Linked DNA regions of Homo sapiens: regions 1 and 2 are each linked to region 3. Evidence: promoter capture Hi-C in 16 types of primary human blood cells and fetal thymus (Javierre and others, 2016). All regions are on one chromosome and are shown on one strand. The core of a region is centred on a gene start or on the middle of the fragment in contact, and the rest is flanking DNA. Distances in the headings are between cores, read along the strand shown. Region 1 overlaps GRM3 (glutamate metabotropic receptor 3). Region 2 overlaps GRM3 (glutamate metabotropic receptor 3). Region 3 holds the start of GRM3 (glutamate metabotropic receptor 3).

The links. Contacts are between HindIII fragments. The CHiCAGO score rates a contact against its expected background, and 5 or more counts as called.
Region 1: a fragment that was not itself captured here is called in contact with the fragment with the promoter of GRM3 in region 3 in 1 of 17 cell types (megakaryocytes); the score reaches 5.3 in megakaryocytes.
Region 2: a fragment that was not itself captured here is called in contact with the fragment with the promoter of GRM3 in region 3 in 1 of 17 cell types (megakaryocytes); the score reaches 5.5 in megakaryocytes.

The regions. Positions count from the first base shown.
Region 1 is chr7:86,788,967-86,793,750 of GRCh38, reverse strand. All of the region lies in intron 3 of GRM3 (glutamate metabotropic receptor 3), which reads right to left. The region is part of intron 1 of GRM3-AS1 (GRM3 antisense RNA 1); the gene reads left to right. Among named protein-coding and RNA genes, the nearest start is that of GRM3-AS1, 12 kb to the left of the region's middle. The HindIII fragment of the contact is 2,560 bases long and covers 1,702-4,261 here.
Region 2 is chr7:86,826,993-86,831,769 of GRCh38, reverse strand. The region is part of intron 3 of GRM3 (glutamate metabotropic receptor 3); the gene reads right to left. Among named protein-coding and RNA genes, the nearest start is that of GRM3-AS1, 26 kb to the right of the region's middle. The HindIII fragment of the contact is 1,149 bases long and covers 1,140-2,288 here.
Region 3 is chr7:86,641,447-86,645,982 of GRCh38, reverse strand. It overlaps GRM3 (glutamate metabotropic receptor 3), which reads right to left and starts at 2,074. Exons shown (of 6, transcript NM_000840.3): 1 at 1,111-2,074. The HindIII fragment of the contact is 6,723 bases long and covers 406-4,536 here.

The DNA.
Region 1 (4,784 bases), core at 1,732-4,231, 150 kb before region 3:
AAATTAGGTTTCCTAGAGGCTCCTGTTCTCCACAGCATGACCTTAAAATGGGAATCATTTCTCAAGCCTCTAAGACACCAAAGCACAGATGCACGGTGCATAAACAAATAAGTGACCACATTAGTGGTGCCCTTTGGGGGTTTAAAATCTTATTCTTATGACCCCAGGAAGCTGACCAGAGAGAAGGGGGAAGAAAGAAGTACAGGATATTTATCTTTACATTTTGGAAATGCTTTTGATCAGCAGAGCTGGAACAAGTTTCTGTGCTTTTGTGGGAACTACAAATGTTCCAGGGGAGGAAGCAAGATCAAGAGCAGTTTGCTCTTTCAGGGACTTCAAAGCCCATTCATCTAAAGATGTGGCCATTACCATTTTGGCTTCCTCACTGTGCCTTGGATGGCCCTGTACTTTTCAAGAGGAGAGCCTTGCTGGGTTGGGGCCAGCTAAAACGTTATTCCTTGGAGTGCAGTGTCCCAGAAAATCTGCCCTTCCTGGCCTGTGCTCTGTGATTATAGTCCCAACCAGGAGTGAACCTTGTTCCTATTGGATGAATCAGACACAGAGGTGAGTAGGGTGGCAAGGCTGGACTACCCATTTTCTGCCTCTTCTCCTCTTCCAGGTGTAGAGAATTGTAAACATAAGAAGAAGGCTGGACTGTCTCCACCAGGCTCTAGGTCTCTGATCCCAGTAGTCTGTCTCTTCACTGGTAGCAAAAAAAAAAAAAAAAAAAAAAAGGCAACCAACCAATGAACTAAGCCAACCAAGCAAACAAATAAAAAAGAAAACTGTCTTAGCTTAGCTGTACATACTATTCAGTCCTGTTATGATGAGTCCATCAGTAACAGGGAATTGTCCTCTTCACATATAAGTGAAGCCCTGGGAGTAAGATTTCTTCAGGGATCCTAGATCTTTTCTGGGTGTAAGATACATAGTAATTTCCCAATCCAAACCAAAGCAGAACAAAAATCCTAGGGCAACACCCTAACATTGTAAGCCATAATAATCATGCTTTTATACTTTAGAATTGTTTTTGGTGGTTAAATGTCTGTGTAAGCTCTATGAAGCAGGGACTGCATCTGCCTTGTTTACTGTTGGGTCCTCAGGTCCCAGCATGACATCTAAACGTATCTGTGGAATGAATGACTAAATCAGGACCTTGGCATTTACTCTGTCACCTATTCATTATGTGAACTTGGATGAATTTTCTTTTGTGTCAAGTTCTCAATTTCTCCATTCTCAAACAGTTTAGCCTAACCCTAAGAATTGCAGAGAGGAATGGCATAAATGTTATTCCTGAGATAATGCCTACGTGACATTGGATGTGTCTTGGGGCACTTCTGGCAGTTATGCTTAGCAAATGGAAGCTCTTTCTTTTTTCCTTCAAATTGGGTATACTCCAGTTACCACATCACTCTGACAGTTGAGTTCATTTTTATGTGCTTCAGTAAGTGAAGATAATAATGCTGACATCCTGAATTTTCACCTCTGTCAAGTGAGAAGTAGGGGCAAGCTCATCTTTGAGGAAGGCCTTTTGTAACTCTATGATTTTATTCTATTCGACTTTCTGGAACTGGTCTCAGGATAAAAAGTGAGAAAGAATGTACTGTACTGTGAACACAATCACAGTGATATTCCATTTCTTTAGATGTTTCATAGACCTCTCGACTTCCTTTTTCTTAACTGTATTGCATAGTTTAAGCTTTCTTTTACATCATAAATTCTGAAATTTTACTCAAAGTAAGTTTGAAAATTCACATGACACCAAACATAATTCTCATTTAAATATTTACTTTAGGATTCTGGATGACATAACTCTTGCACATGGAAATAATTTTACTGAACAATTAAAAAATGATTTGAAACTTTATTTATTTTTAAATATACTAAGGTTTGGAATCCAAGGCTCAGCGTTCAAAGTTTGGGTGTTTGATGAACCACCTTTGTGTCAACTGAAAAAGTAGACCAGGAGCATTAAAGGTATCTTAAAAAGAAATAAAAAAAGGAAACATACTATAAACCTATTGATCATCTTTCATTCCTTCAATAGCATTTCATTAATATTTAGAATGGATCAGAAACTGTGGTAGATGTTTGGGATCAAATACATCAATTTCCCAGAGTCCTCGTGCACATGCAAAAGCAGCACTGGGTCAGGTGACATGAATTTCACCTCACCCCTGTTACTAACGAGCTAACAGTCCTGGCCCCTGTTACTAACCAGCTGACTGATCTTGGGCGAATCACTTTCAATTCTTGGGATTCATCTATAAAACAGTGATGGGTCTCTTCCAGCTTTAATGATATTTGGTTACATTTATCTCAAATGAAATGATAGAATATAACTAAAAGAGAGTACTTAGGTAAAAAAGCAAGCCACTCTAGAAGTCATACACTTTCCTTTCTTGACATTCATTTGTTAATGAACAAAATTTATATATTAAAATTTTTTCAAAGCAATCATATTATAAATTGATTGCTTGCTTTTATAATTTCTCATTCCTTTGGTAAACATTTACATAATGTCTGCTCTATGCCAGAAACCATGCTGAGTATTTGAGATCAGAGATGAAATATATGTACCATGCCTTGAAAGAGCCCACAAGCTAGTAATAAAGGTAGAGAAGAAAACGTAAGTTTGGGTTAACTGCTATTCAAAATCAACACTTACTGAACACCTTTTATGCTTGGGATGCATTTGTGAACAAAATTGATAATGATTTCTGTTTTTTGTGGAGCTTATATTCTAGTGTGAGGATCAAACAATAAAGACTAAATATGAAAGTAATAGATGATGTAGTATGACAGAAGGGGAAAATGTCATGGGGTGAAAAAACAAAAGGTAGAGCAGGGTACAAGGGAAATAGGGGCATCTGTAGTGGGGGTTGGGGGTAATGCATTACACTGTTAAGAATGGCCAGAGTAGGTCTCATTGAGAAGATAACATTTACATGAATATTTGAAAGAAGTAGGGAATGGATTAACCACAGAAATATCTGGGTTAGGGGCAATATAGGCAGAGAGAACTGGCAGTGGAAAAGCCCTAATGTTGGAAACAAGGGTGGCTGGAGTGAAGTGAGAAAGAAGGAGAGTAAAAGGTGAGGACAGGAGAGCAGTCAGGATAGGTAGGGGCAGAGCAGGGAGGGTGGTGTGCAGGACATTGTAAGGCTGTTGACTTTCACTATGAGTGAAACAAGGGAACTCAAGTGGTTCTGAGTAGAGGAAGGACTTTGACTTAGATTTTAAAAGGGCATCCTGGCTATCATGTAGAGAATAGATTGTGGAGGCTAGGTTGAAGTAGGTAAGAATAAATCAACTAGGAGGCTATCACAGAAATGTAGGCTAGAGATGGTGGTATGGACCAGGGTGGTAGCAGTTGAGAAGATGATAAGTCATCAGATTCTGGATCTATTTTGAAGGTAGAGCCAACAAGAGATTTTGGTGTATTGGATATAAAGTATGAAGGAAGGCAAAATCCCAGATGGATATGGGCATAAGAAGGGGCATTTATCTTAGTTTGGGAAGTATAGGAATGATTCCTAAAGGAACTATCAATTAAATTGGATCTCAAAGAGACACAGGAATCACTGAAGATGCCAGATAAGGCAGGTGGGGGTGGGGAGAGAATCTTCTAGATAAAGAAATAGCATTCACAGGAAGTATGCAGGCAAAAATAGAGGCATGCCATGTTTGGGGAACTGCAAGTAGTGCTAATGGAAGGAAGAGTGAATGTGGAGTGTACAGCAGGAGATGAGCCTAGAGACCTGGGCAGTGGTTAGCTCCTGTGCCAGGAGAGATTACTATTTGGAAGAATCTTTAGCAAGGCATAGCTCTAAAAATCTGTTTTGCAAAAGGAATATTTAAACTGGGTTAGCTTCAAACAAGATCCATGTTGACCAATGCTGGAATTAGCTAGTGGGAACACATCTGAGTACCAGGGAGTATTTTAATCTATTTTTAAATTCACAGGAGGCCTAGTTTTTTAATCCTATAATGATGAGAGCTATTGGGGAATTGGCTAAAAGTGTCCCTTGTCAGAAGAATCTTGGAGTAAATGTATTGAGTACATGCAAATAGCCAGAAGAAGACTTTTTTCAGCCTAATTGAACAGACTGTTTAGTGTCTGCTAAGTGTGTACTATTGTGCCTAGTTTATTGCCACAATATTCAAGTTAGAAAAAACAAAGATACTGTTTCAGAAAAAAAGTAAAACAAATCTGCTTTTCAATAGCTAGGAAAAAATATTCCATAGTGCATCTCAAGCTTAAAGCAGTAATAATGCATACATACTTATAATCTTTTACCTAGCTCTAAGTTAAAAATATACATATATTTAGTCATATACAGGTTACTGTAAGCTAAAATCTGCATTCTATTACTATAGTTAGTTCTTTGACTTATTTTTTAAATGTACTAGTTAGCTAACTTAGCATTTTGGTATCCTCCCTTAGTAATGTATTTTCTTGTCCAATTCTCACTGCTGAGAATATTTACCTTGTGGCTGGTCTAAATTCCCTCTCTTTTATGTAGTTTAAATCTGTTTTTCACCCTCCTACTCTCTTCAGAGATGGAGAATGACTGGTAATGTCTGTCAAATTGAGAAGGCTAAAATAGCACTTTGTGGTCAGGTTTGCACAGCCAAACTGAACGGTAGACTTGAAAAGAGTAATTGAACAAGACAGACAAAAAGAGGATACTTTTGTTTTGTTTATCCAAATAATGGGCTTGTTTCTTTACTTTTCTTTGCCTTTTAAGACCCAAGAAGTCACTGGAATGAAGGAACATGTT
Region 2 (4,777 bases), core at 465-2,964, 190 kb before region 3:
GACTCTCTTCAGTTCCCTTGAAATGTTACCATGGTTAGTCTTCATTATAAATTTTACTGGTTTTTCTATCTAGATTCTACGTATTATTGTTGAAATTGTCAATACTCTAGGCAACTCAGAAACAATCTACTCTCAGACTAAGAAGGAAGAATGGGGAGGTAGGGGCATAGGGAAAATAGAAATGAGTGGAAATTATGGAGATTCCAATCCTCCTACCCGCAATTCAGGGGACAGGGCTAACCTGATTTATTTGAGCTGAAAGTCCATAGTGGTCATTGAATCTTTGCTTAGGGACCTTCTTTAATGTGAACTACAGATACTATCACATTTTTTTCCTACCTTCTTTTCCCCAACTCTTGCCCTCTTCATTACACAGTGTACTGCTTTTTTCTCATCTGCTCTAATAAGTGTTTAGATTTGTAAAAATTTTCATTGAGTTTTAATGCATACAAAAAAAAGCATTTTGAAAAAGTGGGTTATCATGAAGTGAACACACACATGTAACACTGTGACTGTTAAGAAACAGAGCATTACCAGTTCCCTTGTTCCCGTCCCTATCATTCCACCCTTCCTCAGCCCCAAAGGCAATCACTATCTTACTTTCTACAACCATTGTATTAGTGTATTAGGGCTGCCATAACGAAGTACCACAAACTGAGTGGCTTGAGATGACAGAAGTTTATTGTCTCATGGTCTGCCTGAAATCAAGGTGTCAGCAAGGTTTGTTTCTTCTGAGGACTGTGAGGGAGAATCTCTCCCATGCCTCTCTCTTAGCTCCTGGTGGTATGCCGGCAATCTTCGGTGTTCCTTGGCTTGTTAATGCATTACTCTGATCTTCCACATTCACACAGTGTTCTCCTTGTGTCTCTGTGTTTATATTTTCCCTTTTTGTAAGAACACCAGCCATATTGGACTGGGGCCCACCCTAATGACCTTATTTTAACTTGGTTACCTGTATAAGCACTATTTCCAAATAAGGTCATATTGTGAGATACTAGGGTTATGACTTCAAAATATCTCTTTTTGGGGAACACAATTCAACTCATAACAACCACAGACTATTTTGCCTGATATTGAACTTTATATTAATGTAAGTATGTATTATTTTGTATCTAACATCTTTTGTTCAAAATTAAGCTTTATGAAATTCATTCATCATGTAGTGATGAGGAGCTCTAGTTTATTTTTATTGATGCATAGTATTTTATCATATGATGTGCCACAATTTATCCATTCTTTTGTTGATGGACATTTTTAAAAAAATTTTCTTTCAATTTTTAACTTATATAAACAATGTTCTATCTTTAGCTGGGTTATCCTAGAAGCAAACCCCAAGACTAAATTTGAATTCACGTAGTTGATTTGGGAGGTTATAGGGCAATGGAGAAATAAGACAAACAGGAATGAATCCAATACAGGATGTGTCAGTGACCAAGTTACTGCTGAGGGCAAGTGGGTCTCAGCCTCACTGGGGCCTTGTGGGAGACAGTGGAGTGGAAATTGGGACATAAAACCCCAGCTTACTCATCAGCTTGGATGGGACAACTCTCATTTGTCATTGGTTTATGGTAGAGTGGTAACTTCATGGCATTTTTGGTATGTTCTCTATAGGTAGAGGCTGTCTGACCAGACAAAGCTCTCTGGCAGAGAGTCACAGATACTTCTATTGAGAAGCCATTGGCATGTCTGAGAATAGTGAGTGGTAAGAAGATACAAGTGAGGCACTGACAGCATTTTCTACATGCTACCTTGAAGACTCTTGTATATAAATTTTGGGATATACATATATAAGCATAGCTCATTTTATTGTACTTTGCTTTATTGTGCTTCACAGATATTCCTTTTTTGTTTTGTTTTACAAATTGGAAGTTTGTAGCAACCCTGCATCGAACAAGTCTATCAGTACCATTTTTCCAACAGCATGCTCTCACTTCATGTGTCTGTGTCACTTTCTGGCAACTCCTCTTGCAATATTTCAACTTTTTCATTATTATTATATCTGTAATAGTGATCTGTGATCAGTGATCTTTGATGCTATTATTATAAATGTTTTCAGGTGCCGCAAACTGTACCCAGGTCAGATGGTGATCTTAATAAATGTTGTGATTGCTGATTCTGATTGCTTCACTGACTGGCCATTCCCCTATCTCTCTCCATCACCTCAGGCCTCCTATTCCCTGAGACACAACAATATTTACATTAGGCCAATTAATGACCTTATGATGGTCTATAAGTGTTCAAGTGAAAGAAAGAATCACTTAAAGTCAAAAGCTAGAGACGATTAAGCTTAGGAAGGCATGTTGAAAGCTGAGATAAGCTCAAAACTAGCCCTCTTGCACCAGTTAAGCAAGTTGTGAATGCAAAAGAAAAGTTCTTGAAGGAAATTAAAAGCACAACTCCAGCAAGCACACAAATGGTAAGAAAGTGAAAGAGTCTTATTGCTGATATGGAGAAAGTTTTACTTGTCTGGATAGAACATCAAATCAGACGCAAGATTCCCTTAAACCAAAGCCTAATCCAGCTCAAGGTCCTAATTATCTTCAATTATTTGAAGTCTGAGAAAGCTGAGGAATTGCAGAAGAAAAAGCTAGGAGAGGATGGTTCATGAGACTTTGAAGGGCTCAAGACTTCAGTGGAGGAAGTCACTGCAGATGAGGTGGAAATGGCAAGAGAACCAGAATTAGAAGTGGAGCCTGAAGATGTGGCTGAATTGCTGCAAACTAAATGATCAAACTAAAACAGATGAGGGGTTGCTTTTTATGGATGAGCAAAGAAAGTGGTTTCATGAGATAGAATCCACACCTGGTGAAGAAGCCGTGAACGTTGTTGAAATGACAAGAGAGGATTTAGAATATTACATAAACTTAGTTGATAAAGCAGTGGCAGGATTTGAGAGAACTGACTCCAATTTTGAAAGTTCTATTGTGGGTAAAATGCTGTCAAACAGCATCACACGCTACAGAGAAATCTTGTGAAAGGAAGATTCAATTATTGTGGCAAACTTCCTTGTTTTCTTATTTTCAGAAACTGCCACAGTCACCTCAGTCTTCAGCAACCACCACCCTAATCAGTCAGCAGCCATCAACACTGAGGCAAGACCGTCAATCAGCAAAAAGAGTATGGCTTGCTAAAGGCTGGGATGATTGTTAGCATTTTTTAGCAATAAAGTATTGTTAAATTAAGGTATATACATTGTTTTTAATACATAATGCTACTGTACACTTAATAAACTACAGTATAGTGTAAATATAACTTTTATATGCACTGGAAACCAAAAAACTTATGTAACTTGCTTTATCGTGAATTTTGCTTTATTGCAATGGCCTAGAACTGAATGTAAAATATTTCTGAAATATGCCTATATGTGTATGTGCAAAAGTGTGTATATAGTGTGTATGTATTTGTATATAATAGTAAATTGTATGTGAGTTTCAGTTGCTTCATATGCTTCATAATGATGTCATTTAATTTTAGATATTTGAGTGAAAATGTACCGGTATCTCGTTGTGATTTTTTTGGTAGTTAATTTGCATTCCCCAATGCCTAATAATATTGAGCACCTTTTCATAAGTCAATCAAATGTCTATAAATACCCTTTTATAAAGTACCTTTTCCAGTCCACTTGTATTGGATTTTTTTTTTTTTTTTTTTTTTTTTTGATACGGAGTTCTGCTCAGTCGCCCAGGCTGTAGTGCAGTGGCACGATCTCGGCTCACTGCAAGCTCTGCCTCCCGGGTTCACACCATTCTCCCGCCTCAGCCTCCCGAGTACCTGGGACTACAGGTGCCTGCCACCACGCCCAGCTAATTTTTTGTATTTTTAGTAGAGACAGGGTTTCACCGTGTTAGCCAGGATGGTCTCCATCTCCTGACCTTGTGTTCCGCCCGCCTTGGCCTCCCAAAGTGCTGGGGTTACAGGTGTGAGCCACCGCACCGGCCTGGATTTTTCTCTCTTTTAAAAATTTGACAGTGGGCGTGGTGGCTCATGCCTGTAATCCCAGCACTTTGGGAGGTGGATCGCCTGAGGTCAGGAGTTTGAGACCAGCCTGGCCAACATAGTGAAACTTCTTCTCTACTAAAAATACTAAAATTAGCTGGCCATGGTGGTGGGCGCCTGTAATAACAGCTACTCGGGAGGCTGGGGCAGGAGAATCGCTTGAATGCGGGAGGCAGAGGTTGCAATGAGCCGAGATAGGGCCATTGCACTCCAGCCTGGGGGACAAGAGCAAAACTCTGTCTCAAAAAAAAAAAAAGTGATTTATATGAGTTTTTTATATTTTCCAGATATGACTACTTTTCAGATATATGTGTTGTGAATATCTACTCTGTGGCTTACCTTTTCACCTGCTTCTTAGTTTTGTCCAATAAACATAAATTCTAAAATTTAATGCCCAGTACAGTCTTTAGTTTTAATGCCCCTAAATTCTTAATTTTAATGCCAATTTCCAATTTATGAATTATTTACTTTATGGCTAAGACTTTCAGCATTCTGTTTAAGAAATCTTTACCTATTTCAAGATTACAAATATATAATTCTAAAATGTGAGGATTTCAGGTACTGAAAAACATTTCAGAAGAATATTGTATCTTTAAGGTATCAGCTCTCCTTTTGTGCTGACATAGTGTATTGTGCGTTTGACCTTAAGGAAATGGACTATAATATGTTGGAAAAATATTCAGTGTGTGCCCATCTCTTTGCTATTCCTAAGCCTCTCCAGAACAGGGATGATTTCTCATTCAACTTTGTACTCTCATTAAGGAACACTGGACACATTGTT
Region 3 (4,536 bases), core at 825-3,324:
CCACCACAAAGAAACATACTGTAGCTGTGCTGGACAGTTCTAAGAAATTCAAGCAAAGAAACTCTAAGGAACTATTGTTGGTACTTAACTCACACCTACCTCAACTCACATTAACCTCAACTTTGAATATTCCAATATGTACCTACATATAGACCCCAAACATATCTATTACTATTCAAATAGTAGAAATATTTTTATAAGCAAATTAGTTGAGTCCTTAACCAAAGATCTTTAGAGGTGTATAGTTTTGTTTTTCAAAATTTACAATATCTAAAATACTTAAAGTGGGAGAATCCTTCCTTAATATATTTACCTAAAAGTGTTGTACCTTAGAGAATTGTCCACCTTTGATAACCCAAGGAATAACTAGAAAGAAATTTAAATGAAATCCTTAAGAAACAAGCTTATTGGATATATCACCTAGTCTATTTTTGGATCGCAAATCTCCCGCCCTCTCTGAGTTATCTCACTGTCAGATAAGAAAATGGAACAGGGTCGATGAAAAGATATGCTCCCTGTCTGGCTTTTCGATTTTTCACTCAAGCCAAAAGGAGCAAAGGGCAGTGAGTTAAGGCTCCTTTCCAACCCTGCTTGCGGGAGGGCAAACCTCTGGCCGCCTCCGGCTTCGGAGCTTATCTGGGCTGCATGGACCAGGTCTCGCTGACCGTTGCCCACCTCTGCCTGCAACCTCCACACCCACATGAAACCGCCCGTATCCACGGATTCCTGTGCACAAAGCCTTAGGGAGCCCCCAAATAGAAACAAATTCTGAGCCCAGAGCTGAGATGGAGGTGGTTGGCTGATGAGACTGGTCTCTCTGGGGTCTGCGAGTGCTAGTTCGTCCCTTCACCTCTCGCACCCTGGCCGCAGATCTATGCCCTGAAATCTCCCTCCTCCCAGACACAGACGTGGGCGCACACACACAAACTCTCACTCATGCACACCCACATCGCCTCTGCCCTCCACCCTTCCCACTCCAGTCAGGACTGTAGGGACTGGTCCATGCTCTACCTCAACTTTCCCGGCTGCGCCTGCCCCACGCGGCACCCGAGCTTCCGCGCCCTGGCTGGGCGCCCTCCAGAGGGACACGTCCTCCTCTGGGACCCTTACCTCGCACCGACAACTCCTGGCAGGAACTGGAGCTGACCGCGGTGGCAGCGGCGGCGGTGAGCCTGCACCCGGGCTCTGGCTCATGGTTGGTCCTCCTCATCCGACACAAAAGAGGTAGCTTACTGGCTTTGTCCTTTCCAAATCCAAGGGAGAACTTATTTTGCCCTCGAAATGGCCAACTTGTGCGCGCAGCTTCCTGTCACAGTGCCCCCTGCCCCTGCCCCCTCCCGGCTGCACGCTGGACCACTGCCCGGTGGCAGAACATCCAGGCATCCGAGTCAGTGGGGAGTGGGAAAACGGAGGGGTGGAGTAGAAGAGAGGGAGGAGGTTGGGGAAAGAGGGGACCCAGTGGTCTTCCGCGGAGGGGAGGGGAGCTCTTCCCAGCCGAGTCCCCTCCTCCTTCTCTTATCAGGCAAACCCACTTCCTAGGCGCGGAAGCAACTTTCCTTCACCTTGACCAGGCTGAAGCCGTCGCATCTAATTGGGACTCTTGGCAGAAGCACGGACCTCCTGGCATCCTCTCCTTTTCATTCTTTCCTCCCTCTCTCGTTCTTTTCCCTCCCCCACCCTCCCTCTTATAAGGGTATATCTGCAGAGTCTTCAGTGAGCCAGGGTACCTAGACGAGAGGATTTTTATACGAAAAGCCAGGGTAGATTTGCCGACTGCTTTGCCTCACTCTGAAATCCTTAGGCAGTGCATGCAAAGGTCGGTGAATTTCGGAGTGGGGTGAAGGGGCATGGGGCGGTAGGGAGGGTGGCGGCTCCAACTTTAAAGCTCTGCTAGAGCGCTTGGCTTTCAGGTAAGCAGGGACTAACAGTCCTTACAAGAACTCTCCTGTGGTCCCTGGGCAGGGGGCTGACCGCATGCCAGAGGAGATTAGGAGAGCGGGAGCAGAGAGGGAGTGTGAGAGCCAGGGAGGCCGGTACGCAGCTCAGCCGTACTCGCGACTCAACTGCACACTGCGAGCCCCTGGAGAGGGTTTGTGCAGAACAATCTCTGGGTCAGGCGGGAGGCAGACGCTCCTGTTTCCTAGCAACCCTTATCAATCTTCTCCCTCTGAAGGAATTCAATTGGACAGCCCCTGGAGAAAAGCCACGCCCATCCGGGAATGCTGGGCTGCTGCTTTTTCGCATTCTCCCAAATTTCTTGGGTGGAATAAGATTATAGGGGACTGCTGAATTATCTTTCTTCTTATCCTTTTCTGCTACCACCTCGCCTCTTAAAGCTACCCCCAGCACCCCCTCATTGGTCCTTCTCTAGTCCTGCTATGGTTGTCGGATACAGTCAATGTTTCCTACAGAACCTCTTCTTTCTTCTTAAAAATAAATAAATAAATAGGAACCTTAAATCGGTGACGTAGGCACAAAAGAGAAAAAGGCACGCGGAAACAGCTTTAATAGGCTGCCAGCTACAGATAAAATCCTAAAGGTAAAATTCCAGGCATCTTTCTATGTCTAGAAACACATACTGTTTAATTTCCAAATTGAAACTTCATTAATTTTTGTACTCTAATATACTAACTTTGTATTAACCAAGGACTGAATTATATGAAGCCAGACACAATTAAACTTAATGCTTTAAATGCTACATTTAGTCTTTAATATTTAATGTTAAGTTGTTTAACAATTGCTGTCTTTTGTAACCTAGCCAGAACTTTTAAACTACAGAAATAATTTTACCTACTGATTCTTTTAGAGGGACAGCAATATTTAAAAGACACATGTGCATATATATATATATATATATATATATATATATATTTCATTGTGAACTCCACTAGATCCAGAAATTTGAATATATTAAAAAATAAAGTGTTATTATATAGTGAAATGCTAAAATTTTAGAAGTCCCCCTTTCAACGTATTCTTTCTGGAATGCAATAGCATTGACCACGTACAAGCAAAATTCCTCTTCCTTTGTGTTTCATTAGTATTTTCCAGCATGAATTGTTCACCAAAAAAAGATCTTTATAGGAATTTAATTTTAATTTTAAGAATTTATTTACTTTTAACAATGTCTGCCCAATAGACAACTGTATATCAAGGGGCAATGACATGAACATGAGAAAGATAAAGATTTATACACTGCAAGGCTTCAGATCCTCATGAAGCTGTGTGGGTAGATTTTGGTCTCTTTCAGAACGTTCCAGAAGACATCATTTTGCGCTTCCAAGACCTTATCAGAATTAGCTGGGATTGAGAGAAGTAGAAGAGAGCTGATGTTTTTGTCTCACACACACAAAAGTAGCTGATGTTTGCACAACGGAAAGTGCTGATAAACTGCACTCCATAGTCTGTATCTAGCTGTTAACTAAGGCTTGTGGTGAGTAGAGGCTGAAATGCTGAGGCAAATTATCAGTCTGTTATCAGATATTGCCTGATGAGACACTTCTTTCCTCTCCCACGTTACGCCATACACACAAAGGAATTCCTCAATGTGAATCCTGAATTTTCATCACTTCCTAGCTGCGTGAACTTGGGCAAGTTTCTTAACCTGCCTATATGTCAGTTTCATCATCTGTAAAATGGGAATAACAATTGCTCATACCTCAGAATTATTTTGAGGATTAGTAAATCCATGTAAGAAGCATATAAATATTAGTTACTATTAAAAATCCCTGGTTTATATAATAGTTAACTGATGGTATTTTAATTGTTGAGCATATTTAATTGAAAGCAATTAGTCTTCACTGTTTAAATTCGTCATTGATCGGGAATATAGATTGGCTTTTAATGTTTATTTGTTGGTGTGTGTGTGTGTGTGTGTGTGTGTGTGTGTGTGTGTGTGTGTTTTCGAGTTACTTTTAAAAGCCTCAAGGGATAGGTCTAAATAAAAACCTCTGACTAAGTAACATGTCAATTAAGAGATTACATTATCCCTCTCTTCACACCCTCCCCAAGTATTCTAGCTGGGCTCCATTTCTAAACAATCCTAGTTCCTTTTCTTAATTACATCTGATGTATCAAGTTTCTCAAATATTTTTCAAGTGAAACACATGTATTTGGGCATCTAGATCACTCCTTGTAGCTCATATTTTTATTAGTTTATCTAAATTTCACTAATTCATCTATATTTGTTTGAGTAACTAAATCATGATGTTTTTTCTTAGGAGTCTTTACCATTAACACTTGGACTTCTTTACAGTGATTTTTTAAATATGGCCTGTAGGCTGGGGGCGGTGGCTTACGCCTGTAATCCCAACACTTTGGGAAGCTGAGGTGGGTGGATCACCTGAGGCCAGGAGGTTGAGACCAGCCTGGCAAACATGGTGAAAACCCCTCTCTACTAAAAATACAAAAAATTAGCTGAACATGTGGTGGGTGCCTGTAATCCCAGCTACTAGGGAGGCTGAGGCAGGAGAATCACTTGAACCCAGGAGGTAGAGGTTGCAGTGAGCCAAGATCACACCACTGCACTCCAGCCTG